Linked DNA regions of Homo sapiens: regions 1, 2, 3, 4 and 6 are each linked to region 5. The links are contacts of gene promoters, found by promoter capture Hi-C in blood cells and fetal thymus (Javierre and others, 2016). All regions are on one chromosome and are shown on one strand. The core of a region is centred on a gene start or on the middle of the fragment in contact, and the rest is flanking DNA. Distances in the headings are between cores, read along the strand shown. Region 1 has its middle 64 kb from the start of USPL1. Region 2 has its middle 6.0 kb from the start of HMGB1. Region 3 holds the start of LINC00426 (long intergenic non-protein coding RNA 426). Region 4 has its middle 12 kb from the start of HMGB1. Region 5 holds the start of UBL3 (ubiquitin like 3). Region 6 has its middle 22 kb from the start of LINC00426.

Region 1 (4,864 bases), core at 817-3,316, 700 kb before region 5:
AATAGTGCTGCAGTAGACATGGGATGCAGATATCTCTTCGTTATACTATCAATGACTTGTTTTGTTTTCTTTTTTGAAACAGAGTTTCTCTCTTGTTGCCCAGGCTAGAGTGCAGTGGCAGGATCTCGGCTCACTGCAACCTCCACCTCTCGGGCTCAAGCAATTCTCCTGCCTCAGCTCTCGAGTAGCTGGGATTACAGTTGCTCACCACCACACCTGGCTAATTTTTGTGTTTTTAGTAGAGACAAGGTTTCACTGTGTTGGTCAGGCTGGTCTCAAACTCCCAGTCTCAGGTGATCTGCCCATCTTGGCCTCCCAAAGTGTTGGGATTACAGGCGTGAGCCACCACGCCCAGCCTCAATGACTTGTTTCAATGAATTCTCTCTTTGAAGACATACTGGTATCTCCTGCTTATTGACAATTGTGGCAGCAGCTTCCAAAAGCTGATTTTTCTGACATCTTTGAAACTTTTGGACACTTCTCCCATTGGGAAAATAGAATTTTTCTTTTGAATAATTCTCATTTCCCACTAAGCATATAAGCAACCTGGAGTATCTTGTAAGACCCATACAGATTAATATTTCAAGCATAATAATCCTTATACATTCCTTTTTGACGATGGAGACTATGGTTACGAGTAGCAGTTTTTAAATAAGGACTACTTTTGAGGTCCCAAAGCTTTGAAAACCTGAGGTATAAACAAAACAACATATTCCAATGAGATATTGATATCTAAACTAGTTTTCTTAAATCTGTCATTCAAAGGTTGAGAATTTCTTCCTGAAATTTAGACAATATATTATGGAAATGCGGTTTGTCTTTTTGTAAATTTAGGATGATTCTTTTTAAAAATAATTATAGGCATTGTTTATTCTGTATATTAGTGTAATAGTCAATGCAGTAGCTAGAATTGTGGTTGCTAATAGTCACAAAATCTAGTAAAATTGTGAGTACATGAACCCATCCCAGGAAACTGATGGGACAAGTAGTAAATTTTTTTGACTCTTTAACAAAAATATTTAATGCTGCCAAAAAGTATAAAAATACAGTAGGAATGGCAGTACAACACAAATTAATCTCTCCTAATTTATTTCTTTTACATATTTCTACGTTTCATACACCCATTAAAAACACTTAACAGGCCAATGCGGTGGCTCACGCCTGTAATCCCAGCATTTTGGGAGGCCGAGGCGGGCGGATCACGAGGTCAGGAGATCGAGACCATCCTGGCGAACACGGTGAAACCCCATCTCTACTAAAAATACAAAAAATTAGCCAGGCTTGGTGGCGGGCGCCTGTATTCCCAGCTACTCCGGAGGCTGAGGCAGGAGAATGGCGTGAACCCAGGAGGCGGAGCTTGCAGTGAGCCGAGATCGCGCCACTGTACTCCAGCCTGGGCAACAGAGCAGAGACTCCGTCTCAAAAAAAAAAAAAAAAAAAAAAAAACACAACGACACATCCAATGTAAGGTTCTGCAAAGTCTTCTGCTGGTGGGTGCTCCTCATACCCTGTATGTAAAGTTTACTTTGTAAACAAACAACTGTGAGGCAATCTAGAAGGTTAGCAAGCCTCACTTTAGTTTCTGGAGTGGGCTTCAGGTCTTGTTTTGCACATCAGTGGTTCAAAATTTATAGCTCCAGAATATTCTCAAGTCATGAATATTAGGTGTCTATCTTGGCCTTTTTCTTTTTTGTTCGTTCTCATTTAGCCTCTGTTTCATCTGCTGCACCTTCTGAGCTGTGGTGGCCTTTCTGTCCTCTAGAATATGTTTCCGTAGAGCATTCTCACTGTTCTCTTCCATTGTATCTTGCATTTACTGTACATCGGTCACCTGTCAGTTTTTCTTCTTCTAGACCAATTCTGTTCCCATTGTATTTTTCAGTCATTATTTTGTTCGGTGAATGATCAAAAGCAGGAGCTAAGTTTTCCTTAGAAAATTCTTTCCACCGTTTCTGTATACTAGAATCTACCTTTATACATTTTGCTCCTTCTATTATAGCCATGTATGAGAATCTCAGTTGATCTGGGGTCTGAATAAGACCCATTCAGTATTTTCTCATGTTCAATAACACTTGTTTAATGTTAATATAATCTCCTTTTCCCATCAAAACAAGACAAGCGTCTACCAGAGAGAAGGTGCCCGTGCACCCAGTGCCTTCGCTACAATGGATCACTGCAGGCCCATGGTCAGGGTTCAAGGAGCCAGATTCTCTCACTTTCAACAAGAAATTGAGAAATGAAGCTGGTGATTCAGGGACTCCAAAATCTGGCCAGGTCGTATAATGCAAGTGAGATATTGTTCTGGTTTCACCACTATTGATATTTTCTAATCGTAGTAGATGTACTGTGTAATATGACTTCACATCTTCTGAAAGAGCTTCACATTGAATCCCGTTTCTTTAAACAGCATCTTTTGGTCATCTGTTGGCCAGTACTGCGCACATTTAACCGATTCTTTCTCCACAATGCGGTTCAGCACAACAACTGCTTTGGTCTTCTGCTGCCAAACCGTAAGCCAGAAATGGCAGCACATGTTAGGAAGTGGACCCGGTGTTAAGATGTAACTCCTTCGTGCCTCTTCTATGTCAACTAAGCTGGCATTAATATAATCATTCTCAGTATTCTGCAGTTTAACACGACTGTGATCATATGGGCTTACATCTCTGTATCTATTTCGATTTCTGTTTTCTGGAAACTTGGCCACTCTATGAAGATAGTCATGGGACTCATTTCGAATTTCCAAGTACGGCAGCTGCCAGCGATGCTGAGCATCCAACTCCTTGAACTCCCGCTCAATGATGGTGGGCATGGCTGGGACAAATAGTGAATCTTAAGAGAAATGGAAGAGTGAGGTTGGCTCCTAAGCTGGACAGACACTCAATGTGGTTTATTATAGTCAATCATTACTCAAGGAAGTTGTATATATTCTATTCATATATATATTTGGTAAATTTCTAATTACCATACCCCTATGAAGTCATTACCATACTCCTATAAAGTATTATCTTCATTATAAAGTGAAGAGAGTGAGGCTGAGAGAAGTTAAATTATGTGCCCAAGGTCATGGCTAGTGAATGAGCAAACTTGGTTTCAAAGTCAGGTCTGTCTGGCTCCCAAGCCACCAGTCTTTTACGTTACCACATTGTCTTAGTCTGGGCTCTCCCGAAAGCAAAGCCTGTACAAACAACTTGGAGGTAGGTAGGGAGTTTATTTGGGAATGTGACACCAAGGAATAGACTGTGATAAGACAGAAGAATGACCCCCCGGAAGGAGAGAAAGCCAACCCAAGGGTCCCTTTCAAATTGGCAACCATTATGAATATCTGCTACTTGATCCTGTGGGAGCTTCTGAGGAACCTTTTAACATGCATCTCAGAATTGGCCACCCTGGGCTAAAAATGAGACAAGCATTTTTTCTATGAGCTCCTGTCCCTCAGTGGTCAGGGCAAGCTTACAGGCCTTAACTGTCCTGCATTTCCAGATTGTCCATATCTGAGTGCCAAGTGGTTCCCATGGGACTCCTGTGTCACAGCTCCAATGTAGCCCTGGGGCCAGAAACTAGGGGCAGAGGCCAAAAGCAGGTGCTGTGAGGTTGCATCCGCACAAGGTAGAAGAAGCCCACAGAGACCTGGGTACCATAGCAGTGTTTGAAATAAGAGGTGAAATTGAGAACACGTGATATATTGCTCAGAATGTTTAGAGACACATGACCAGTTACAATGAGAGAGTGGAATGAGAATCTTCAATGTCTCATCATGCATTCATTCATTCATTTATCCATTCAGTCACCAACGAATGCTGGGTAGTATATGAAGTGATAGAAGAATTAAAATGGGTCTAGCTGAGTCTCAGATACGACAGAAAAGAAAATAGACAATATGATAGTGTGTGCTAAGTGCTTCAATAGAAGTATACAAAAAGGTAGTAAAAGTATCGAAGAGAGATACCCAGTGTATTCTGTGTGTGGACAGAGAGGGGGTGTGGGGAGAAGGGAGGTCATTTTCCTAGAGCTTAGTCTTGAAAGATAAATAGAAGTCAGCCAACTGAGGAGAAATATGAGCATCAACTCTATATTCAAATTAAATTTTAGTATTTCAATATTAAATTTCCTAAGTATGATCCTTGTGGTTATGTAAGAGAGTGTCCTATTTTTAGGAGATACTTGCTGAAAAATTTAAGAGTAAAGTGTCATAATGTCTGCAACTTACTCTCAAATGATTCAGCAAAGTAAATATTTGGGGATGGGGAAAAGCAAGTGAACACAAATGTAGCAAAATGTTAATAACTGGTGAATATAACTAAAGGATATGTGTGTGTTTATTGCACTAATCTTACAACTTTTTTAAATTTTCTGAAATAAAAAAAGGAGAGGAGAAAATTAATTGAGGGCCATGGGCAGGGGTTGGGGAGGAGCAGTCTGGGATGGGCTTGTGAGAGGGACACCAATACCTGAGGACGCTTGGGGCATTTTTAAAATTGCAGCGATTGGCCAGGTGCAGTGGCTCACACCTGGAATCCCAGCACTTTGGAGGCCAAGGCAGGAGGATCGTTTGAGACCAGTCTGGGCAACAGAGCAAGACCCCGTCTCTACAGAAAATACAATATTAAATAGCCAGGCATGGTGGCACATGGCTGTGGTCCCAGCTACTCAGGAGGCTGACGTGGGAGGATTGCTTAAGCCCAGGAGTTTGAGGCTGCAATGAACTATGATCGCACCACTGCACTCCAGCCTGGGCAACAGAGCAAGACCCTGTCTCTAAGAAAAGTAAATAAATTGCAGTGGTTAGTGGGACACCATGGGACATAAATGCTCATGATAGAGAAGCAACAAAAATGAGACAAGAAAAGGGAGTGATCTGTGCTAG
Region 2 (4,281 bases), core at 848-3,347, 620 kb before region 5:
CACTCTCTTTTTCCCCAAACCCTGGCAGCCACTAATCTACTTCCCTGTCTATAATATTTCCTGTTCTGGATATTTTATATAAATGGAATCATACAATATGTGGCCTTCTTATGTCTGGGCTCTTTCACTTAGCATAATGTCAAATATATATGTATGTGTATGGATATACCACATTCGATTTATCCACTCATCAGTTGATGGGCATTTGGGTGTTTTCCACTTTTTGACTGTTACAAATGCTGCTGCTATGAAGATTCATGTACAAGTGTGTGTGGACATGTTTTTGTTTCTTTTGGGTATATACCTAGGAGTGGAATTGCTGGGTCAACTGCTATCTATCTGTGTTTAACCTTTTGAGGAACTGTCAGCTTGTTTTCCAAAACACCTGCCCGTTTACATTTCCACAAGTGTGCATAAGGGTTCCAGTTTCTTTCTCCACATGCTCACCCATGCTTGCTACTGTCTATCTCCTTGATTATAGCCATCTGCGTGGGTGTGTGATAAGCATTTATTCTGAAGGTGTAAGGCAGTTTTAATAGAGCAGCTGAATTTGATGTTTGATGTGATTATTGAGATCAAGACCTAATATAGGGATCTTTTCTGAACTTAGATCACCTTTCTGTAAGAACTTTTACTATTGCGTTTTCCACTCGTCATGTGTACCATTCTTTGACTAACCAGAGGACAGGCCTCTTAAGGAAAGGTCTGATATTTTCCCCTTACTAACCAGTAAAATCATCCAATTCTAGAGAACTTATTGATATAAATTAGCTTTGGTACAATTTTCTGTGCCATAGCATTGATGGCTATCATCAATGCTGCCCACGGAGAAGCTGCTGATTTCCCCCCGGAAAACTCGGGCTGAGGCAGGAGGTACTTAAGCAGCTGGGGAAGAGGTTCTCCTTCTCCATACATGAACACATATAGCACCATCTCCCTCTCTTTCGCCTCTGGTCTTTCTTCTTGCCTCTCCATTTAGTCATGAAACATCCTTTCAAGTTAGACTAAGGTAGTGACAGCCCTAAGGAAATGTTGAGGAAACTGAGCATAGACCTCGGTGACTATGAGAGGTCCGTGCATAGTGAATTGAGGGGATTGGATGTCAGTATCCTTGCTTCTAGTCTGGAGTTCACAAACCTGTGCTCTCTTCTTTTCCTAAATGCCTCATTCCTTTATTTTCACTGCCCTAAAAAAAAAAAAAAAAGTTTTCAGTATGTGTGATCCTTAGTATGGTTGTATGGTTATATGGTTGACCTCATCAGACATTTTGGGTTAGCGTTTCCTCTCCTTTTCCGAAACTGGCCTGTTTTGCAAAGCAGACAAGAGAATTCATATAGCTTGACTTTAGGACTCATTGCATTGGGAGAGATCAATATTTTCAACCAATGAAAAACTTACAGCTCCCAGTCTGCATTTTTGTTGTTGTTGTTGTTTTCTGTATTGTTTTGTTTTGTTTTGAAATGGAGTCTTTCTCTGTAGCCCAGGCTGGAGTGCAGTGGCACCATCTCAGCTCACTGCAACCTCTGTCTCCCAGGTTCAAGCGATTCTCATGCCTCAGCCTCCGGAGTAGCTGGGAGTACAGGTGTGCGCCACCATGCCTGGCTAAGTTTTGTATTTTTAGTAGAGATGCGGTTTCAACATGTTGGCCAGGCTGGTCTCAAACCCCTGACCTTAAGTTATCCGCCTGCCTCGGCCTCCCAAAGTGCTGGGATTACCAGTGTGAGCCACTGTGCCTGGCCTTGCATGTCGTATTTTTTTTACGTCAGAGTTTTTTATTTGTATCTTTGTTTTGAGACAGAGTCTCACTCTGTGGCACTCTGGTGTAGTCTCCATTCACTGCAACTTCCGCCCCCTGGGTTCAAGTGATTCTCGTGCTTCAGCCTCCCAGGTAGCTGGGACTACAGGCATGCGCCATCACACCCGGACTCATTTTGGTCTTTTTAGTAGAGACAGGGTTTTGCCGTGTTGGCCAGGCTGGTCTTGAACTCCTGGCCTCAAGTGATCCACCCACTTCTGCCTCCCAAAGTAGTGGGATTACAGGCATAAGCCACCACACCTGGTCACCTTTTAAGTTTTAAAAGCCCATTGGTGGCCAGCCGCGGTGGCTCACGCCTGTAATCCCAGCACTCTGGGAGGCCTTAGGCGGGCGGATCACCTGAGGTCAGGAGTTCAAGACCAGCCTGGCCATGGTGAAACCCCATCTCTACTAAAATTACAAAAAATTAGCCAGGCGTGGTGGTGCGTGCCTGTAATCCCAGCTACTCTGGAGGCTGAGGCAGGAGAATCGCTTGAACCCGGGAGGTGGACGTTGCAGTGAGCCGAGATGGTGCCACTGCACTCCAGCCTGGGCAACAAGAGTGAAACTCCATCTCAAAAAAAAAAAAAAAAAAAAAAAAAAAAAAAGGCCGGGCACGGTGGCTCATGCCTGTAATCCCAGCACTTTGGGAGGCGGAGGCGGGTGGATCACCTGATGTTAGGAGTTCGAGACCAGCCTGGCTAACATGGTGAAATCCCGTCTCTACTAAAAATACAAAAAAAAAAAATTAGCCAGGTGTGGTGGCCCATGCCTATAATCTCTGCTACTTGGGAGGCTGAGGCAGGAGAATCACTTGAACCTGGGAGACAGAGGTTGCAGTGAGCCGAGATCGCGCCACTGCACTCCAGCATAGGCAACAAGAGTGAAACCCCGTCTCAAAAACAAAAAACAAAAAACAAAAAAACAAAAAAACCAACCATTGGTTTGGTTGAACATGGGAGACAAACATTAAATTAAAGATAAAATAAAATAGGCCAGGCGCGCTGGCTCACACCTGTAATTCCAGCACTTTGGGAGGCCAAGGCAGGTGGATCACGAGGTCAGGAGTTCAAGACCGGCCTGTCCAATATAATGAAACCCTGTCTCTACTAAAAATACAAAAATTAGCCATGGCGCGTGCCTGTAGTCCCAGCTACTCAGGAGTCTGAGGCAGAAGAACTGCTTGAACCTGGGAGGTGGAGGTCGCAGTGAGCTGAGACCACACCACTGCACTCCAACCTGGGCAATAGAGCAAGCCTCTGTCTCAAAAAATTAATTAATTAATTAAATATAAATAAATAAATAAATAAATAAGTCTGGGCATGGTGGCTCACACCTGTAATCCCAGCACTTTGGAAGGCTGAGGCGGGTGGATCACCTAAGGTCAGGGGTTCAAGACCAGCCTGGCCAACATGGTGAAACCCCGTCTCTACTAAAAATACAAAAATTAGTTGGGCATGGTGGCACACGCCTGTGATCCTAGCTACTTGGGAGGCTGAGGCAGGAGAATCACTTGAACCCAGGAGGCAGAGGTTGCAGTGAGCCAAGATCGCGCCACCGCCCTCCAACCTGGACGACTGAGTGAGACTCCGTCTCAAAAAAAAAATAAAATAAAACAATAAAAAGCCAATTGGTAACAATCTTTGGGCAGACAATCTTGCAGTTTTCTGTGATAAAGTCTAATTTGGCTTGCCATAGTTCACTGTATCCACCAAGGAATAATCTTGGCCTAATTGGAAACTGGTAAATGCTTAGACTATATGTGTTTCTCTACATTTGAGATCCCCTCTCACCCTCCAACTGTGCCTCTCCCTTTTTAAGTTACGTCAATGAGATGTAATTGGCACCTATCCTCAATCTTAGTATCCTAACATTCGCTTCTTATTCTATTTTCCTGCCTTTTGATTTAGAAAGACCTAAATGCTTTTAGATCTAAAGATAGAAGAGGAAGGTTAAAACAATAATTTGCAATACGTACTCCTTCAGCTATTAATTCATTTATGCAACGGGCTTTATTTAATGCCTGCTGTATGCCAAGTACTCTGCTAGGTGCTTGGGATTCAAAGATAGGGGCTGGGCTCAGTTTCTCATGCCTGTAATCCCAACATTTTGGGAGGCCAAGGAGTTTGAGACCAGCCTGAGCAACATGGAGAGACCCTGCCTCTACAAAAAAAAAAATAGCCAGCACCAGGCACGGTGGTTCATGCCTGTCATCCCAGCACTTTGGGAGGCCAAGGTAGGAGGATCACTTGAGCCCATGAGTTTGAGACCAGCCTGGGCAACATGGAGAGACCTTGTCTCTACAAAAAATAAAAATAAAAATAAATTAGCTGGGGCTGGGCACAGTGGCTCATGCCTGTAATCCCAGCACTTTGGGAGGCCAAGGCGGGCGGATCACAAGGTCAAGAGATGGAGACCATCCTGGCCAACATGGTGAAACCCCGTCTCCACTAAAAATACAAAAATAAGCTGGGCGTGGTGGCACG
Region 3 (4,796 bases), core at 289-2,788, 520 kb before region 5:
TCTGTAATCCCAGCACTTTGGGAGGCCGAGGTGGGAGGATCTCCTGAGCCCAGGGGTTCGAGATCAGTCTGGGGAAGGGACGAGACCTTGTCTCTACAAAATTAAAATAAAAATAAATAAATTAGCCAGGCCTGGTGGTGCATGCCTGTAGTCCCAGCTACTCAGGAGACTGAAGCAGGAGGATCACTTGAGCCCAGGACTTTGAGGCTGCAGTGAGCTATGATCACGCCACTGCACTCCAGCATGAGCAATAGAGTGAGACCCTGTCTGTATTGAGAGAGAGAGAGAGAGAGAGAGAGAGAGAGAGAGAGAGAGAGAGAGACACACACAGAGAGACAGACAGAGAGAGAACAAAGAGCAGGTGTGATCGGAGCTCAGGAAATCCTCCCTCTGGTAAGTAGTCTCAGCCTTCTATTGAGGCTGCCACCACAGTGCCATCCACAGCTTTTGCAGACCATGACATACGCAAACTGTTGTAAAATTTTGGCAGTGCTCATAGTCTCAGAGCCAAGCTTTGAAACAGAGAGGCAGCAGGAGACAGTGGGAGGAGGGTGGGATTAGAGACAGAAGGTCTCCGGGTTTGAATCTTTTCTCTCTATTGGCTGGTTGTGTGACTCTTGTCTCAGCTTCTTGGGCTGTACAAAGAGAAAACTAACACCTGCCTTAGAGACTTGTGATGATTTAATGTAGAGTGTGTGACATGTTATTGGATATTAGCAATTGCTGATATTTATAATGAAGAGCACTGGAAGCTGTCACAGTTCTCATAGTTTATTTTGCATTTGCTCCTCAGCATCCTCTGCTCATCTCAGTGTCTGTGTGGTCTTAGTGGGATGCTGACTATATTAATACTTGTAAACTTTACTCATTTTCCATCTCAAATGGGACAAGGGATAAAAATTATTTTTTATATTGTATATTTATTTAGTAAGTGAGCACTTTCCATTTTAGGCACTGGAGACACAGAAATGAAAGAGACAACGTGCCCTCAAGGATCTCACAGTGTGTGGTGAGGTGGACACACACACACATATCTAAGCACATGACAGTGAGAGGCACGTGGTCACGAGGTTGTGACGTGGAGCTGAGAGCTCAGAGGAAGGGCTTTGGATCAAGTGTGGTCAGACCACACTCGGCCATGAAAGTCTTTGAAGGTGGGGAAGGGGTGAAGATGGTGAGGGGATTCCACGGCTGGGAGAGGTACACTCCCTACACGTTCTAACCAACTGGCCGTGGGGAGGAAGCTGGAGGTCAGGACACAGGTAGGGCCTGGGTTTTTGCCTCATGTGACTGGGTGGATGGTCACAATTCGGCCATGCTGTCTTTGAACTCAACACCACCAAAATCATAGGATATTCCTAGTAATGTTGATTTCCACTAGATTACTTTTGTTACCAGAGTTTTAAGGGCAGAAGTCTTTGTCCCTTTTTTTCTCTAACAGGAAGCCATTCTGGGCCATTTATTTGCCGTTAACTTACACAGCCCACTGGAGAGTGGAGGGGTGTGAATGTGGGAGCCTGGGTGAGGGCTGCACCGGACTGTCACCAGGACAGTCCTCAATGCTGCCTGACTTAGCCACATTGCCAAAAACATACACCCATAGGTTATGAAATATTCAATACTGTATTGTATGGGAGAAATACAAAGAGGAGAAAGAACTGGGTTGAAAAGGTGGTCTGGTCAGGTATCTCAACCCACTGGCTTATAGACCAGGAACCACTCTAGACAATGCATGTAAGGAACAGAAATGGGAAACAAAAACATTTAAATTGTATTTTTCTCTGATTGCAATAAACTTGGAGGAAAGCTATTTTCTTACTTTGAGCTTTTCTTCCAATTATGATGAATGCAGAGATTAATTACAAAGGACCCGGATAAACTAAAACTCATCTACAGCATTTTTTTTTTTTTTGAGATGGAATCTCGCTCTGTTGCCCCGGCTGGAGTGCAGTGGCGCGATCTCGGCTCACTGCAAGCTCCGCCTCCCGGGTTCACGCCATTCTCCTGCCTCAGCCTCCTGAGTAGCTGGGACAACAGGCACCTGCCACCACGCCCAGCTAATCTTTTTTGTATTTTTAGTAGAGACGGGGTTTCACCTTGTTAGCCAGGATGGTCTCCATCTCCTGACCTCGTGATCTGCCTGCCTTGACCTCCCAAAGTGCTGGGATTACAGGCGTGAGCCACCGCGCCCGGCCTCTACAGCATATTTTAAAAGGCAAAAAGGTATTTTAAAATTCATGTTGGAAGACGTGGGCTCTAGCTGGGGCTGAGACAGATGATTCAACTATATTTTTTATTTTACTGCGCACTGAGGGTTGAAGCTGAAGAGCATGCATGCTTACCATTGTGTGTGCACATGTGTGTATGTGTGTCTTACACCAAAGACTGAAATCTCAAAAAAGCCCCAGGGAGCAGGTGTAACTATTATGCTACAAATGAACAGGTGTATTGTGGATCGCTGTTATATAGTTCTTTTCTTCAAACATACCTTCCTGATATAACGTTTTCTTCCTGAAAGCAAACAGTTTCTACTATTGGATTCTTGAGTGTATCATTAAGCTTCTCCAAACACAAATAACATCTACTATGCTTTAAAAGTAATGGCCCACACAGCTACTTATTTGTGTGACTGTTTATCTGTTTATACCTTTGCCTGTTTTTATCTTCAAGCAAATGGGGGATCTCAGAAGTCTTAATGAAGTAACTATCCCTGAACACTGGGATCAATACTCAGCATCCAGCTGTCAAATCAACACCAAGGTATGTACCGGGGAAAGGAAGGTTTTAGGTGAACTCCTAGCTGCATGTCTGGTTAACCTGCAACCACACAAAGCAGCTGGGGTAAAGGTGTGTCCCGATGCCTTGTGGTGTACTTGGAACTCCACAGCCAAAAGATTAGACGTTGTTTGCTCACTGTGTTCAAAACAAGAGGTGTAAAGGAAGTTCAGCAACAACCGAAAGATGACTCGTAATTTGTAACTGACTGGCTATGCTTGGCGAGCCTGGTGTATTTATAATCTTTCAAAGTCAAGCGCAAAGGCTCCTGAGCCTCATGCGTCACCCAACTGCAGCATTCCTGTTGATCACGCTGGCTGTCACCATAAAGCCTGAGCAAAAGTAAACTTTTCTGTCCCAAGGGTTTCCTTGTACTGAAAGAGCCACTGCTTGCGGCTTTTTACAGGATCACAACCAATGTCTGTTTCATGCGGCAGGTCCCTGGGGACTGTAATTGCAGAAGTATAACCTGGCGGTTATGTCACATGGCCCAAGAAACTGCCAGGAGACCAACATGCTTCCTGCCAGACGACCTTTTGCAGCTGAAGGCACTAGTGCCCCATCTGCGGTCGCTGTCTCTGTATGAACAATTCTCTGATATTCCCTGGGCAAAAAGAGGTGCTTGTTGACAACACTGAGTCAAAACTTGGAACCCTGAGCCCTCAGTCTGCCACCATATCATTTTCCTGTTAATGGAGTGTTAATTAACAAGGGTTTTCGTTTTTATGAAACGAACTGTTTTTAAGTAGGAGGATTTCCTACCTTTGAATCAACTCAGAGCTCATTTCCTACTAAAATGATAGGTGATATCAATATAAGGATGTGGAAGATTTGCCCAGTTTAAGCGTTGGGAATGGAGGCCTAGCTGCATGGCTGAGGGGATTTGGGCCATGCATGGCCTCACTGGTTGAGGACATGGATGCTGGAGATGCTTAGGTCTGGGCTTCTTTGTCTCTTTAGCCTCAGTATTCTCATCTGTAAAATGGGGTGATGTGAGAAGTCGATGAACTAATGCACATGAATAATGACAGCTAATACTTGTGTGGCCCCAACTACATCCCAGGCACTGTTTTTCTGTTAACTCATTTATTCCTCAGAGCAATCCTATGAGGGAGGTACTATTGTGGTCAGTCCCATTTTACAGATGGAAAGCTGAGGCACAGAAAGGTTGGTAACTTGCTCAAGGTCACGCAACTACTAAGTGGCAGACCTGGGATTTGAACCTATGCCTGACTGTGGAGCCCATGTTCTTATGATGCCAAGTTGCACCTTTTGTAAGACAGTCAGTAGGTGGCATACACTTGGTAAGTACTCAGTAACTATCAGAACAGGGTATACAGCGGATCACCTGGAACAGAAGCCATGTTTCTCACCTCTGTTGGCTATGGTGCAAGGCATGGGTGACCTTTAAGGGCCTAATAGTGCTGTCTACTTATCAAAGGCTCAGCTTCTTAGCTGTGGCCACAGGAGACTGGGGCAACCAGAAGTCTGGTAGGGTGTCAAGCCAATAGTCATCCTGGGGATGATGAGATGCCACCAGATTGCTGCTGACTTGGGCCAAGTTGGTGGCAGGCACTTCAGGCCATGGGGGGAACCAGGCATGAGAGCAGGGTGTGGCAGGGAGGAGACACTTGGTCTGTGTGTGTGTGTTTAGGGAGGTAGATGGGAGCCTCAGGTGATTTCGGGTCTTGGGAAAGATAGCTTGGGATGGAGAGTTGGGTCTCAACCCTTGTCTCTCACTCAGGTCTATACCTAACTGGAGACACTGAGAAGAAGAATCAGGGATGAATGCAAGAAGGTGATGTGAGCCATCCCATCCCCACACCTGTGTGTTAAGGAACATGGGGATGTTTTAATAGTAAAGAAATGCCCATAGGATGTTTGGGGGTGGTGATGACTTCCGGTATTTCCTCTCAAAAGGCTAAAAATACTGACAGTCTTGTGCTGAAACTGGCTTTAGATTTTCACCCTGTTTGTCATTCTGCTCTAAGACTGGCTGGGCACTATTCTAGGGGATGGTG
Region 4 (4,806 bases), core at 533-3,032, 600 kb before region 5:
TTGGTTGGTTTGTTTTATTCTGGGGAGGGTCTTTTCTAGCAGAGATTCTATGTCAATCTTACAGAAGCTGCAGCCAACAGTTTTGGAAATGCAAGTTGTTCAATAAGGTGTAGCAAAAGGAGAAATGTGTGGCCCAGATACTAGCCTTTAGGAGACAAGTGTTTGGAAAGGCAGAATGGATTCTGAGGATTTGCCTTAAATGGAATAAAGTTCACCAGTTCCTTGCTGGAGATGATACTTTATGGCAAAGGACATACTCCAAATGTGCTTATAAATGAAATTGTATTTATATGCTCAAAGTGAAATTAAGCTGGCCGGGCGCAGTGGCTCACGCCTGTAATCCCAGCACTTTGGGAGGCTGAGGCGGGCGGATCATGAGGTCAGGAGATTGAGACCATCCTAGCTAATACGGTGAAACCCCCTCTCTACTAAAAATACAAACAAATTTTCCGGGCGTGGTGGCGGGCGCCTGTAGTCCCAGCTACTTGGGAGGCTGAGGCAGGAGAATGGTGTGAACCTGGTAGGCGGAGCTTGCAGTGAGCCGAGATCGCGCCACTGCACTCCAGCCTGGGTGACAGCGAGACTCCAACTCAAAAAAAAAAAAAAAAAAAGTGAAATTAAGCTTAGTTCCTTAGCGTTACATAGAATCTCTCATTAGAGGCTTTACCGTATTTTGTTTGTTAGCTTTTGCTTTTTGGGTTTTTTTCTCCTTTTCACAGGTGTTGACTGTACCCTGGTTTTGTTTATTGGGTTTCAATTAGAGCTTATTTTATAAAGTGATCTGAACATAACCAAGTAAGAGAATAAAAAACCCTAAAATAAAATAAGGATCTGTTGAGTGTGAGAGAGTGCTCCTAAAGATAAAGAAAAACAAGATGCTCAGTTGCCACAGCCTCAGGTGCCACTGTAATCCCTGGAAGAGATGAAGAGTAAGAACTTGGAGGCTACTCAAAGCAAAGATATTGCAGCTCCCCCACCCCTACACCCCAAGCCCCATTTCCCCAGGCCTTGCTCTGCCACCTGGAATCAGCCTGGCTGGGGCTTGGGCACAGGGAATGGGGCTAGGCACACTTAGGCTCAGAAGCAGAGAGGCTGACCAGAGAGCCTGTTTTCAGGGAGGGACAGAATAAGGCATAGCACTAGTGTAAGGTCCTAGCACATTACAGGCGAAGGGGGTCTAAGGGCTACCGTAGTCTAATCTGTGCATTTTTACAGAGTAGTGGACAGAGGCCCATAGGGATTCAGAGGCTTGCTCAAGGACAAATGGCAGTATCAAAACACTCTAGCAGCACCAGGCTCACAGTAGGTGCAAAAAAGATGTGAGCTCTTTCCCCTTCCCTTAAGGACAGCAACAAAAAGGCTGGAAAACTTCCTCATTGCCCCTCACTTCCAGGCCTGGGTTCTTCTGCTTTGGCTACAATTTTTGCTATGCTAGGATAGCCAGTACATTCTGCCATCACTGAGGTTCTTCTCTGGCTTTCTCCTTTGATTTACTTGGACAGAACATTTCTGAACTGAACCAAACCAAACCAAACAAAAATACTCCCAGTCATGTAGAAAGTTATAGGCTATCTGATTCTAAAGGGCTGGTAATCACTAATATAATAGATGCTGCTTAGGACTGTAGCCTGATCTTCTGGAAGTAGAAGCAAGATGCAATATGCTACACACGACAATAACTTTTGAAAAATCGGTTGCCCTTATTATGAATGAAACTTACATTATTGAAACAAAATAAATAAGAAAACAAAAACCTGTAATTCTACCAGTCAGCAAGACTATTACCATATTATGTGCCCTTCCAGTTTCTATATATAACATGTAATATATATAGATATATAGATATAGATAGATTTTAAAAATTGAGGTGAGACTCATATAACATAAAATTAACCTTTTTTTTTTTTTTTTTTTTGAGACGGAGTCTCGCTCTGTCACCCAGGCTGGAGTGCAGTGGCGCGATCTCGGCTCACTGCAAGTTCCGCCATCCGGGTTCACGCCATTCTCCTGCCTCAGTCTCCCGAGTAGCTGGGACTACAGGTGCCCGCCACTGCGCCCAGCTAATTTCTTGTATTTTTAGTAGAGACGGGGTTTCACTGTGGTCTCGATCTCCTGACCTCGTGATCCGCCTGCCTCGGCCTTCCAAAGTGCTGGGATTACAAGCCTGAGCCATCGCTCCCAGCCCATTCATTCGTTTTTAAGGCTGAATAATATTCTATTGTGTGTATATACCATAATTCCTTATTCATTCATCCAGTGATAAGGTCTTAGGCTGTTTCCACCTTGTGGCTATTGTGAATAATGCTGCTATGAATGTGCGTGTACATGTATTTGTTTGAGTTCTTGTTTTCAATACTTTGGGTATATATCTAGGAGTGGAATTGTCGGGTCATATGGTAATTTTATGACTAGCTTTTTAAGGAACTGCCAAACTGTTCTCCACAGCAGCTGCACCACTTCACATTCCCACCAATGATGTATGAGGGTTTCAATTTCTCTACAACCTTGCCAGCACTTCCTATTTTCTATTTTTTAAAATTATAGCCATCCTAGTAGGTGTGAAGTGGAATCGCATTGTGATTTGATTTGTGTCTCCCTAATGACTGATGATACTGAGTGTCTTTTCATGTGTTTATTGGCCATTTGTATGCTTTGGAGAACTAATTCAAGTTCTTCACCCATATTTAAATTGAGTTGTCTTTTTGTAGTGTTGTGTGCATATAGATATACATACATATATATGTTTTAAAAAATGTTAATAATTTAAAAATACTGCATTTGTAAGCTGCTTTTTCTACTTCACAGTCTATCTTGAACAAAAGTCTATGTCAGCTGGGCACAGTGGCACACACCTATAATCCCAGTACTTTGGGAGGCCAAGGCAGGCGCATCACTTCAGGCCAGGAGTTTGAGACCAGCCTGGCCAACATGGTGAAAGCTTGTCTTTACTATAAATACAAAAATTAGCCAGGTATGGTGGCATGCGCCTATAGTGCCAGCTACTCAGGTGACTGAAGCACAAGAATCGCTTGAACCTGGGAGGCGGAGGTTGCAGTGAACTGAGATGGTGCCACTACACTTCAGCGTGGGCAACAGAGTGAGATCCTGTCTTTAAAAAAATTTAAAAAGTCGGCCGGATGCGGTGGCTCACACCTGTAATCCCAGCACTTTGGGAGGCTGAAGCGGGTGGATCACCTGAGGTCAGGAGTTCGAGACCAGCCTGGCCAACATGGTGAAACCCCGTCTCTACTAAAATACAAAAATAAACTGGGCATGGTGGTGGGTGCTTGTAATCCCAGCTACTTGGGAGCCTGAGGCAGGAGAATTGCTTGAACCCAGGAGTCGGAGGTTGCTGTGAGCCGAGGTCGCACCATTGCACTCTAGTCTGGGCAACAAGAGTAAAACTCCATCTCAAAATAAATAAATAAATAAATATAAATATTAAAAAAGTCTATGTCATCATATATTCTTATTCTGCTGGGCATTATTTTAAGTGCCTGAATGTAAAATACCATAAATTATTCAATCAATTCCATATTATTAGACATTTAGTTTATGATTTTTTACTGTTACATATAAGGTTAACATGACTATCCTTTCTTTATGCTCACACCTTTGCCCATAATTATTTTCTTAGGATATAAATATATTCCTCAAAGGGAAATCACTGAATCAAAAGATGAGCCAAATTTGGTGAATTTTACCAAGCTACCTTTGGAAAGTTTTCACCCAAATGTAACAACTTTTTAAAAGGCTATTCAGACAATTTTACATAGAAGGGATACAAAATAGGGTCATGGTTTCTAAGATTTTATAAAGGTTCAAGCCTACAACAGTGGGGGGAATCGTGAAAGGAGTAAACCTTCAAAAGCAAGCAGATAAAAAGCCTGAAAAACTTGGAAAACCATTGGATTGAAATGTCCATTCCTCTTTATACTTCTGTTACCTTACTACTTTTCAGGTTGGAGATTAACAGAAAGAGCTTTTATATTCAAGTAATTGCAGAACTGCAAAAAGTGAATGCCTAGATCAATTGGAATTGGTAGAAAAACTGAAAATTTTGCACGAGCATTAGAGCTTTTTTGCTTTTTACTTCATTGTGTCACTGTACTTTGTAAAAACCTACATAATCTCCAAAATTTACTAATTAGTAACTGTATCAGATTTTTTTTCTTTAAATAAGGTTAAATAACAACATTTTCACATACTGTTTTAAAACCAAGACGTAGATCAACATTCTTTCAGGCATTTAACAGTGGCCAATAGGCCAACATGAAACTGAATTAATTATGTATAATTTATCCTCTAGACAATCCCATAGGAATCTTTTTCATACATTGATGAGTAATGGATTTTACCCTACATAGGTCACTGAAAAGCAGTGTAAATTTCATGGCTTTTTTGTGTTTGTTTGTTTTTTTTCTGAGATGGAGTCTTGCTCTGTCGCCCAGGCTGGAGTGCAGTGGCACAATCTCAGCTCACCGCAACCTCCGCCTCCTAGGTTCAAGCGATTCTCCTGTCTCAGCCTCCTGAGTAGCTGGGATTACAGGTGCCTGCACCATTCCTGGCTAATTTTTGTATTTTTTAGTAGATACGGGGTTTCACCATGTTGCCAGGCTAGTCTCAACCTCCTGACCTCAAGTGATCCGCCCGCCTCGGCCTCCCGGAGTGCTGGGATTATGGGCGTGAGCCACCATGCCTGGCCTCATGTTTCTTTTAAGCACTTAACTTTTAGAAGGCAGCATTGCAAACTTTCACGTCTGAATTTATATATATTGAGCTTCTATAGATAATTACAGTGTACCT
Region 5 (4,343 bases), core at 84-2,583:
CTCCCTGAGGACAGTGACTGGATTCTGCCTCTTTTCAACAGCCCTATAGACAAGGATGTAATAACCCCCATTGCCAACCCAAGACCTTGGCATTTCTGCCACATGATGCTGCTGTTCGCTACAGTGACTCATTTTTAAACTCCTAGTGCCTAGCAGAGTGCCTGGCACATTTGTTTGCTGAATGAGAGAATGAGTAGTGACATTTCATATCAAATGATGCATTATTATTTACAAAGTGATTTATTTCCCATGCATGAACTCATCCTCATAACTACCCCTACTTTACCCCGGAAGGTAGGCAAGACCATTTTACAGATGAGGTCACACAGCTGTAGGTTGGAGAGGTGGCTTTCAGACTCTAAATTCATTGGCATTTATATATAGGCATCATATTGAGACTGCCCTTTCTAAAGTACTCTGTCAAAGGACTAAGAGATATGAATAGGGATTCAGATGTTGACCTCAGATTTAGGAACAAAATGCAGAAATCACAAATGTCCATCTGAATGGTGTCTCAACAATGGCATTATTTTCTCCTATTTGCTAATCACTGCAAGGCATATAGGTTTTCAATTACATTATGAGTTACATAGAATAGAATTTAGGGTCCAGATGGGTAAACTGGTGAATCCCCATGAAGTTTGTAGTAGCTATTTCCTGATACAGATTTGATATAATAACACTGTTGTATGTAATACAGTTTTGGTAATTTCAGTTAAGTAGATTGTAGCTTTATTGCCCTGGGTCTTCAAGGAAACACATGTTCAAATATTCTCACTGCTTAATGAGATCCTTGTTCCTGTTGAACTTATGTGACCTTATTGGAAATCAATGATTGCTTTTGTTCTTCAAAATGTAATGTTGAGGAGACCTAGATGAAATCACTCTACAAAATGCATTGAGATTGCAGGATGTGGAGAATGTGCTGTAATTAAAATGAATGATTCTGCTTGGAGGTACAGCATATTTTAGCTCTGTGTGCATATCGTGCATAAGGGAATTTCTCTATGCAGAATTATTTTCTCCCAACAATTCTCATGATCACAGCACTCCTGGTAGCAGGTATCACTTAACTCCTGGGCAGCAGCTTGTCCAAAGCAAGGGAAAGGGAGCTTTCCTTTCCTCGCAACTGTTGCTATGGGGGGCGTGGCTTCGGAGCTGGGTGAGGAGGCGTTCGGCGGCTCCCTCCCCCCCCCACCCTCGTAGACTACACTTCCCGTGATGCTCGAGGGAATGGTCTCCGTGGTGACGCACTTGGTGTCCGCGGAGGGAGGACGAGGACGGGGGCGGCGGCTGCTGCGAGGGGGGGCCCGTGCTCTCCCCGTTTCCCTTAGTCGCACTCAGGCAGCCGCCGCCGCCGCCGCTGCCGCCATGTTGGTTTGAGAGGCGATGACAGGAGGCGGCCGCGGCGTGTGGGACTGAAAAGTGAAGGAGGAGGAGGAGAAACAAAGCTCTGAGAGGAAACCATTCCCGGGCTGAGGAGAAGGAGGACCCGGCCTCTTCCGGGGACCAGCCGAAGTCGGCGTCGCCCGGAGCTCGCGAGGCCGGGGAGGGGAGGGGAAGGGAAGGCGGAGACCGGGGAGGCGGCGGCGGGGAAGGCGGAGGCAGAAGAGGAGTGGCGAGGAGCCGGAGACGATGCGCCCCGACCCCAGCTGCTGTCCGGAGGCGCCCGCGGCCTGAGCCCAGAGGGGCTGTGGAGTGTCCCGGCCGGCCCCGAGCACCCCCGCGCTGTCGGTCCCCCGCTCCGGTCTTTCGCTTTGGCTTCCAACTAGTTAAATGCCCTTGAGCGCGGGTTTCCGCGGCCCGGCTCTTCGCCCCCGCGGCGCGAGTTGAGCCGTTTCCCCGCGCTGTCCGCGCGGGCGCTCCGACAGCGGCTCTGCAGGGTCCGCGGCCAGCGTCCGGCCACCGCTCGGCCGCCACTCAAGGCTCACGCGTCGATGTGTAGCTACATAGTTATCTGTGTACATCCACGCTGGGGCATTTTTCTCCTGCTTAATGAGGACTTGACTCGGGAGCAAGTGTGAATCATTGCCGGGGCTGGGAAAGGAGGAAGGCGCATTTAACCCCCTCCCACCCCTCTCCATGTCCGTGTGTCACTCGGCTCGGTCCACCTGGCGCGGCCGGTCCTGGGGCTGCTGCTGCTGTTGACGACGACGACGACGACGGGGGCTGCCTCTGCTGTCCCGGGAGTTTCCTCCTGCTCCGGCCACACAGCTCCTGGGGATTGTTCCTCTTCGAACCAGAACCTCGGCCTGACCGGCACTTTGGCTCCAAAATAACTTTATTTTTGGGGGAGAAAGCACATCACGAACCAGTCAAAATCGTGGTTTATTTCTGTAACGTGAAGACTTCTGCTCTTTTTTCTTTGTTTGTTTTTTTCGTAAACATCTGGGTGTATATCAAACGGCAAGATGTCCAGTAATGTCCCGGCGGATATGGTAAGTGACGGATAAGTTATGACACTGATTTAATTGTGGTTTCCAATCTTATTTAATCGGAAAGACGGCAGGCGTGGGGCGAAGATTTGCTGGGGACTGTCGAAAAGCCACTGTGCTGAGCGATTTGGAGAAGTTGGAGCTTCTGGTTTCCCCCTTTTAGGAAGTACTGCTTTTAATATGGGTTCTCTCATTTGGTCGTGTTTTCTAAAGCATTGAAGATAGTGGAGAAGTAGGGAAATGTATCATGGTAGCTTGAGGGGACAAAACATCTCCCTCTTCGCTAGAAGCCTCCGAACACTAGTATTTTAACGTTTCTGAAAACGTCAGGGACAGTGGGCAGAGCTGAGGACGGGTGTCCCTACGAGAGAATAGGTAGGGAAACGGGAATCTTGCTTTATGACACAGACGAGATCGTCATTGCAGTAGGGACGAACTTGATATTTTTCAAGAACAGGGATGCACATCTCTTCAAGAAAAAGTATGTTAGAATTTGCTGTGAGGTTTTTGAAATGTCTGAATACGGATGGCAACAGAAATATAAAGATATTTTGGGATTTTCAGAAACGTAGGCTGACCCTGTATTGGTACTTACAATGAATATTCCAGGGCTTTTTAATGCCAGATATTTATTAATAGTAGATTCCATATTAGACATAAAGCTAAGGAAACATAGTATTGAGCCTCGATCACTGAGTGTTGAGAACTTGAAACAAAAAGTACTGTTGTTTATTGACGCCTTTCTTTGTTTTGTTTATAAAGGGTAAGGTTGTGAGTCGGTTGACTAACAGTAACCGTGTAACCTTACAGTGCTGGGGCTGGGCTTGTGTGAGTGTGAAGTTACATTTTGCAGTCCTAAGGACAAACATAATGCATTTAATTACCAGGAAGAGGAATAATCCTGTTTATGAAAGAATTGAAGTTAACGTAGTTGTGCTCACATATGTTAACATTTGAGTGTTTGTGTATTCAGTGGAAACAAATTGAACTTTGCTGATGATTAAATTTTATTTTATTTTTTAATTTTAATTTAATTTTAATTTAATTTTTATTTTTTGAGACGGAGTTTTGCTCTTGTTGCCCAGGCTGGAGTGCAATGGCGCGATCTCGGCTCACTGCAACCTCTGCCTCCTGGGTTCAAGCGATTCTCCTGCCTCAGCCTCCCAAGTAACTGGGATTACAGGTGCCCACCACCACACCTGGCTAATTTTTTTTTTTTTTTTTTTTTTTTTTTGTGGAGACAGGGTTTCACCATGTTGGCCAGGCTGGTCTCAAACTCCTGACCTCAGATGATCCACCCATCTTGGCCTCCCAAAGTGCTGGGATTACAGGCGTGAGCCACTGCGCCCAGCCTGCTGATGATTAAATTTTAAAACGCCAGATGTTTCTAGAGGAGCAAACCTCATATACAGATTTTATAACAAAAATTAAATGATTCTAAATGGCTTATTTTGACCTTGGTTTAAAGGAATTTTGCTCTTGTTTAATTTCCCATTGAATGCAAAGGAAACACAGTGTTCTGTCTCTGGGGGTGGCCACATAACAGCTTTACAGTCTCCTTCCTGAGTCCTAAAACTCGTGCGTTGTCCTTTTAGTTTTCGCTTCTCTTCTGGTGTGCACACATGAAATAGCCTCCTGCCTGGTTAAGTACGGCTGGACAAGCTTTCCTCCATACTGCTCTTGAAGTTGCCGGGAGCGGTCTCTAGACAGAGCTGGGAAATGCTATTTCCCTTGTTTGATGAGTGATCTGTGGGTTCATCGCCTCGAGCAAAGATTTGCTCTCTCGAAAGCCTCCATTTTATATCATCAAGCACAGTGCAAAATAGGTTAACCTTAAGTACCGTCTATTCTCTCACAGACGTTGGAATGAAATAGATGTGTTATTAAAACAGTGCCGCTACTTCCTTT
Region 6 (4,256 bases), core at 1,602-4,101, 540 kb before region 5:
GCATTAGTGAGTCTTTAGAAAATCAAAGAATAAAATTTATGTCTTTTTCAAGCTCACCTCTTACAAAGACCTGAACCACCAACAGGGTCAGAATGGCACAGCCTCAGCCAGACGTGGTGGCTCATGCCTATAATCCCAGCACTTTGGGAGTCTCAGGTGGGATTGCTTGAGCCCAGGAGTTTCAGACCAGCCTAGGCAAGATGGTGAGATCCATCTCTACAAATTATTTTTTATTTTTTTGCCAAGTATGATGGCATACACCTGTAGCCCCAGCTACTCGGGGAGAGGCTGAGGTGGGTGGATTCCTTGAGCCCAGGAGTTCGAGGTGACAGTGAGCTTTGATTTCACCGCTGCACTCCAGCCTGAGCTACAAAGGGAGACCCATCTCTAGAAAAAACAAATGGCACAGCCTCTATGGAAAGCGGTACGGTGGGTCCTCGAAAAAATTAAACAGAATTACCATATATCCACCAATCCTACTTTTGGATATTTATCCAAAGTAACTGAAAGCATGACTTCTATTGAAAGGAATTGAAAGGAAATAATTGAAAGGAACTCATGCAGATAATTGTATACCCAGGTTCACAGCAGCATCCTTCACAATGGCCAAAAGATAGAAGCAACCCGAGTGTCCATGGATGGATGAATAGATAAAATGTGGTATACATACAATGGAATATTATCCAGCCTTAAAAAAGGAAGGATATTCTGACATATGCTTCAACATGGATGAATCTTTAAGACATTATGTTAAGTGAAATAAGTCAGTCACATAAGGACAAATACTATGTGACTCTAGTTATATGAGTGTCTAGAGACAACAGCAGAATGGTGGTTACCAGCGGGTAGGGGAATGGAAAATGGAGAGTTAATGTTTAATTGGTCCTAGGCTTAGTACCTGCATGACGAAATAATCTGTACAACAAACCCCTGTGACATGAGTTTGCCGGTGTAACAAACCTGCACATGTACCCCTGAACCTAAAATAAAAGTTAAAAAAAAAAAAAAAAGAAAGAAAGAAAAGTGCCCTTTGCGGTTCCACACAGAGGCGCCAGCCTTGGGCTGAGAGAACTCACTGGTTTGATGGTTATTGGATCGCTCATTAGAGATAACCAAAGCTATTGTTCCTCCCTGATCTTGCCTCTGTAGTTGAGTCATCACCCTTAGAGGCAGAAGAAAGCAAATTATAGCAGGGCTTCTTCAGCATTGGGGTGGGGAAAGTATTAAAACATGCATGGTAAAGATGTCACCTTCTTGGTCGTGGAAAAGCCCTCCTGGGGTAAATCTGCATATATTTGCATATATATATGCACGCATACATCCTAACCTGAAGGGAACATCCAGCTCTTCTCACCTACAAAAAGATGAATCCTTCTGATGTCTCTTTTACAGGGTATGTGGACAATAAAAATTTAACTATTAATGTTGTAGAAATCTAAGGGAAAAAAATCGCAAAATGAACGTGCCATTTAAATTTTAAATTTAAAAACGTCATTTTTAGTGTAAATTCTTTATAGGTAGATAAGAGCATATCTTGAAGACTTTTTAGGAAGGGAGAAGGGGAAATAGTAAAAGGTAACGTCAATCCTAAATCTTTATTTGAAAAGGAGACTGGATCTGTTTTTTTCTCTAACATCAATCCTAAATCTTTATTTGAAAAGGAGACTGGATCTGTTTTTTTCTCTAACATCAATCCTAAATCTTTATTTGAAAAGGAGACTGGATCTGTTTTTTTCTCTAACATCAATCCTAAATCTTTATTTGAAAAGGAGACTGGATGTTTTTTTCTCTAACGTCAATCCTAAATCTTTATTTGAAAAGGAGACTGGATTTGTTTTTTTTTCTCTAATTGTGTGCTGGGCAGTAGTTCTACCTTACTGTACCAAGGGGACTAACAGGGTTTGGAGAAACTAGGCTTCATCTTTTTCCAGGATCATCAGACACTTTCCAGGGGGAAAATGGACTTTCACTTTGGAAAATATAAAATCGTGTTTGTTTTACCTTACGAAACAACTGGAGCCTCTGGAAGACGAGGCTGTACGGTGCGTTGTGTAACCCGCCTGGGGAATCACGTTGCACAGACAAGTCCCACAGGCTTTTACTGCAATAATAAGCTTGATCTTCTTATTCAAATACAAGTAACAACCACAGCCGGCTCCAAGTCACGTGTCCAGGTCACATGGCACACAGACGCAGAAGCCGACTGGCAATCATTAGCCAATGCTTACTACCAGGAAGAAAATCCTGGCATTAAAGACACGAACTCAGTTTTTATAAAACAACCAGGACTGCAAGAGAAGGCATTTGATGTGGGGGTAGGGTGTCATTCTTGTTAAGTGCTTTCCAAGGAAAGGAAAAGAGCCAACACACACTCCCTCCTTTCGCTCTTCTCCCAGAACTTTCCAAACTTGCCCAGCGTAGCCGCCTTTTCCAAACCTGGAGGAGTGCTGGGCTGCAGCATCCGCAGCTCAGGTCTGGGAGCGAGAGGGAGGGGCGGGCTGACTTGGCTCTGGGTCCTAGCCCTTGGGAAATGGAGGGCTGAATTCAGAGCTGAATTTAGTAGAAAGCCAAGTTTTCTCTTCCTTATGAAATTAATGCTTCTGGGTCGATGGAGTTTGGGGAGGGGCGAGGGGTGAGAAGAAGCACTGTGAGCTATGGGGTCCGTCTGGACTTTTTGTTAACATGAAAAACAACATCCAGAATGTGGCTTCTTTAAGTTTTTCTGTGGTAAGAACAGAAACTGCAAGGACTCTGCCTACCTGAATGTTTCCTTGTTCAGCCGTTTGAATTTAGAAAGAAGTTCTTTCACTTTCTCTAACTTGTATAGTGTTACTTTGTGCTTCCAAAAACTGCAGTGATCGAACTGAGTTTGTTTAATTTAGTGTGGAAGTGACAATAGTGGGTGTGAATGAAGAGTTTAGAATCTGCTGGAGGGAAGGGGTAAAGTACAGATAAAAGGCTTTAACGGAAAATTGACAGCCTTTTTTTTTTTTTTTTAACAATCTAGGCGTGTTTTATTTCACAATGCACAGAAAGTGCTTTACCCAAACACTGCAGAACAGACGCAGCCTTAAAAGAAAATCTATTGGTATAGTCAGGATTCTCAATCCTATTTCATTTCGCTCTTTTCAGAAAGAACAACCATACAAAGAATTTCACTGTGTCACTGAAATATAATTATTTCACAAAATTTAGTTAGGAAGTTTGGTTTTCTCCCTCTTCATCTTTTTCTCCATCCTACCCTCTTCAAAAAGCTAAAATACGCCTGTAATCTCAGCACTTTAGGAGGCTGAGATCAGGAGTTCGAGACCAGCCTGGCCAACATGGTGAAGCCCCATCTCTACTAAAAATACAAAAAAAATTATCTGGGCATGGTGGTGTGTGCCTGTAATCCTAGCTACTCGGGAGGCTGAGGCAAGATAATTGCTCAAACCCGGGTGGCAGAGGTTGCAGTGAGCTGAGATTGCGCCACTGCACTCTAGCCTGGGTGACAGAGTGGGACCCCGTCTCAAAAAAAAAAAAAAAAAGCTAAAATAAGAGCATGTGAGCCAAAGGGGTGAATCTAGGTTTCGTAGGTCCTGAAGCTTATGTAATTTGGAAGGAAGAGAATATAAATTCAAACATACAAAATTAGGTATTAAAGTATCACTAAATTTAGAAAAACATATAATTAACTGACTAACATATCTCTAAAATCCTTTCTATCCCACATTTTGGGGCAGATATTCATTGATGGCCTCTTATGTTCCTGAAAGGTGAGAACTTTCATCTTGACCAGTGATCCGTTTAAGTGTACCTACAATTGTACAAGTTTGATGATTGGAAAGCTTTGCCCCAGACTCTTGTAGGACCCTATTTCACATCTTGTTTCCCCCCCTTGCTCTGGGGACATGCACATATCATGATATGATGCTTGAGTCTGAGCCTTTACGACTCCATGCCAGCTAAGTCGGAACGTAGGAATATCCCCAGAAACCTTTTCTAAGCAGTAGCTTGGCTATACGAAAGTGACTGCATCAACCAGGAGCAGTGGCTCGTACCTGTAATCCCAGCACTTTGAGAGACTGAGTTGGGCAGATTGATTGAACCCAGGAGTTTGAGACCAGCCTGGGCAACATGGCCAAACCCAGTCTCTACAAAAAAAATCCAAAAATTAATTGGGTGTGGTGGTATGTGCCTATAGTCCCAGCTACTTGGGAGACTGAGACAGGAGGATTGCTTGCCCCCAGGAGGTCTAGGCTGCAGTGAGCCCTGAT

The links. The method cuts DNA at HindIII sites, captures the fragments that hold promoters and counts their contacts. A CHiCAGO score of 5 or more calls a contact.
Region 1: a contact is called between a fragment that was not itself captured here and the fragment with the promoter of UBL3 in region 5, in 1 of 17 cell types (naive CD4 T cells). The highest score is 5.7, in naive CD4 T cells.
Region 2: a fragment that was not itself captured here is called in contact with the fragment with the promoter of UBL3 in region 5 in 2 of 17 cell types (fetal thymus and naive CD4 T cells); the score reaches 6.5 in fetal thymus.
Region 3: a fragment that was not itself captured here is called in contact with the fragment with the promoter of UBL3 in region 5 in 2 of 17 cell types (naive CD4 T cells and fetal thymus); the score reaches 5.4 in naive CD4 T cells.
Region 4: a contact is called between a fragment that was not itself captured here and the fragment with the promoter of UBL3 in region 5, in 3 of 17 cell types (fetal thymus, total CD4 T cells and naive CD4 T cells). The highest score is 6.0, in fetal thymus.
Region 6: a fragment that was not itself captured here is called in contact with the fragment with the promoter of UBL3 in region 5 in 1 of 17 cell types (naive CD4 T cells); the score reaches 5.6 in naive CD4 T cells.

The regions. Positions count from the first base shown.
Region 1 is chr13:30,551,616-30,556,479 of GRCh38, reverse strand. It overlaps a transcript of HMGB1 not described here and the pseudogene PTPN2P2. Among named protein-coding and RNA genes, the nearest start is that of USPL1, 64 kb to the left of the region's middle. The HindIII fragment of the contact is 2,771 bases long and covers 681-3,451 here.
Region 2 is chr13:30,469,777-30,474,057 of GRCh38, reverse strand. It overlaps a transcript of HMGB1 not described here. Among named protein-coding and RNA genes, the nearest start is that of HMGB1, 6.0 kb to the right of the region's middle. The HindIII fragment of the contact is 9,123 bases long and covers 1-4,281 here.
Region 3 is chr13:30,370,249-30,375,044 of GRCh38, reverse strand. LINC00426 (long intergenic non-protein coding RNA 426) reads left to right here and starts at 1,131. Exons shown (of 5, transcript NR_024464.2): 1 at 1,131-1,262; 2 at 2,671-2,760. The HindIII fragment of the contact is 2,047 bases long and covers 515-2,561 here.
Region 4 is chr13:30,451,510-30,456,315 of GRCh38, reverse strand. No RefSeq gene overlaps it. Among named protein-coding and RNA genes, the nearest start is that of HMGB1, 12 kb to the left of the region's middle. The HindIII fragment of the contact is 2,316 bases long and covers 625-2,940 here.
Region 5 is chr13:29,847,607-29,851,949 of GRCh38, reverse strand. It overlaps UBL3 (ubiquitin like 3), which reads left to right and starts at 1,333. Exons shown (of 5, transcript NM_007106.4): 1 at 1,333-2,438. The coding sequence starts at 2,412. RefSeq lists silencers at 1,178-1,287, 1,558-1,857 and enhancers at 1,418-1,487, 2,158-2,227, 2,698-2,767. The HindIII fragment of the contact is 5,102 bases long and covers 1-4,099 here.
Region 6 is chr13:30,393,528-30,397,783 of GRCh38, reverse strand. No RefSeq gene overlaps it. Among named protein-coding and RNA genes, the nearest start is that of LINC00426, 22 kb to the right of the region's middle. The HindIII fragment of the contact is 1,470 bases long and covers 2,117-3,586 here.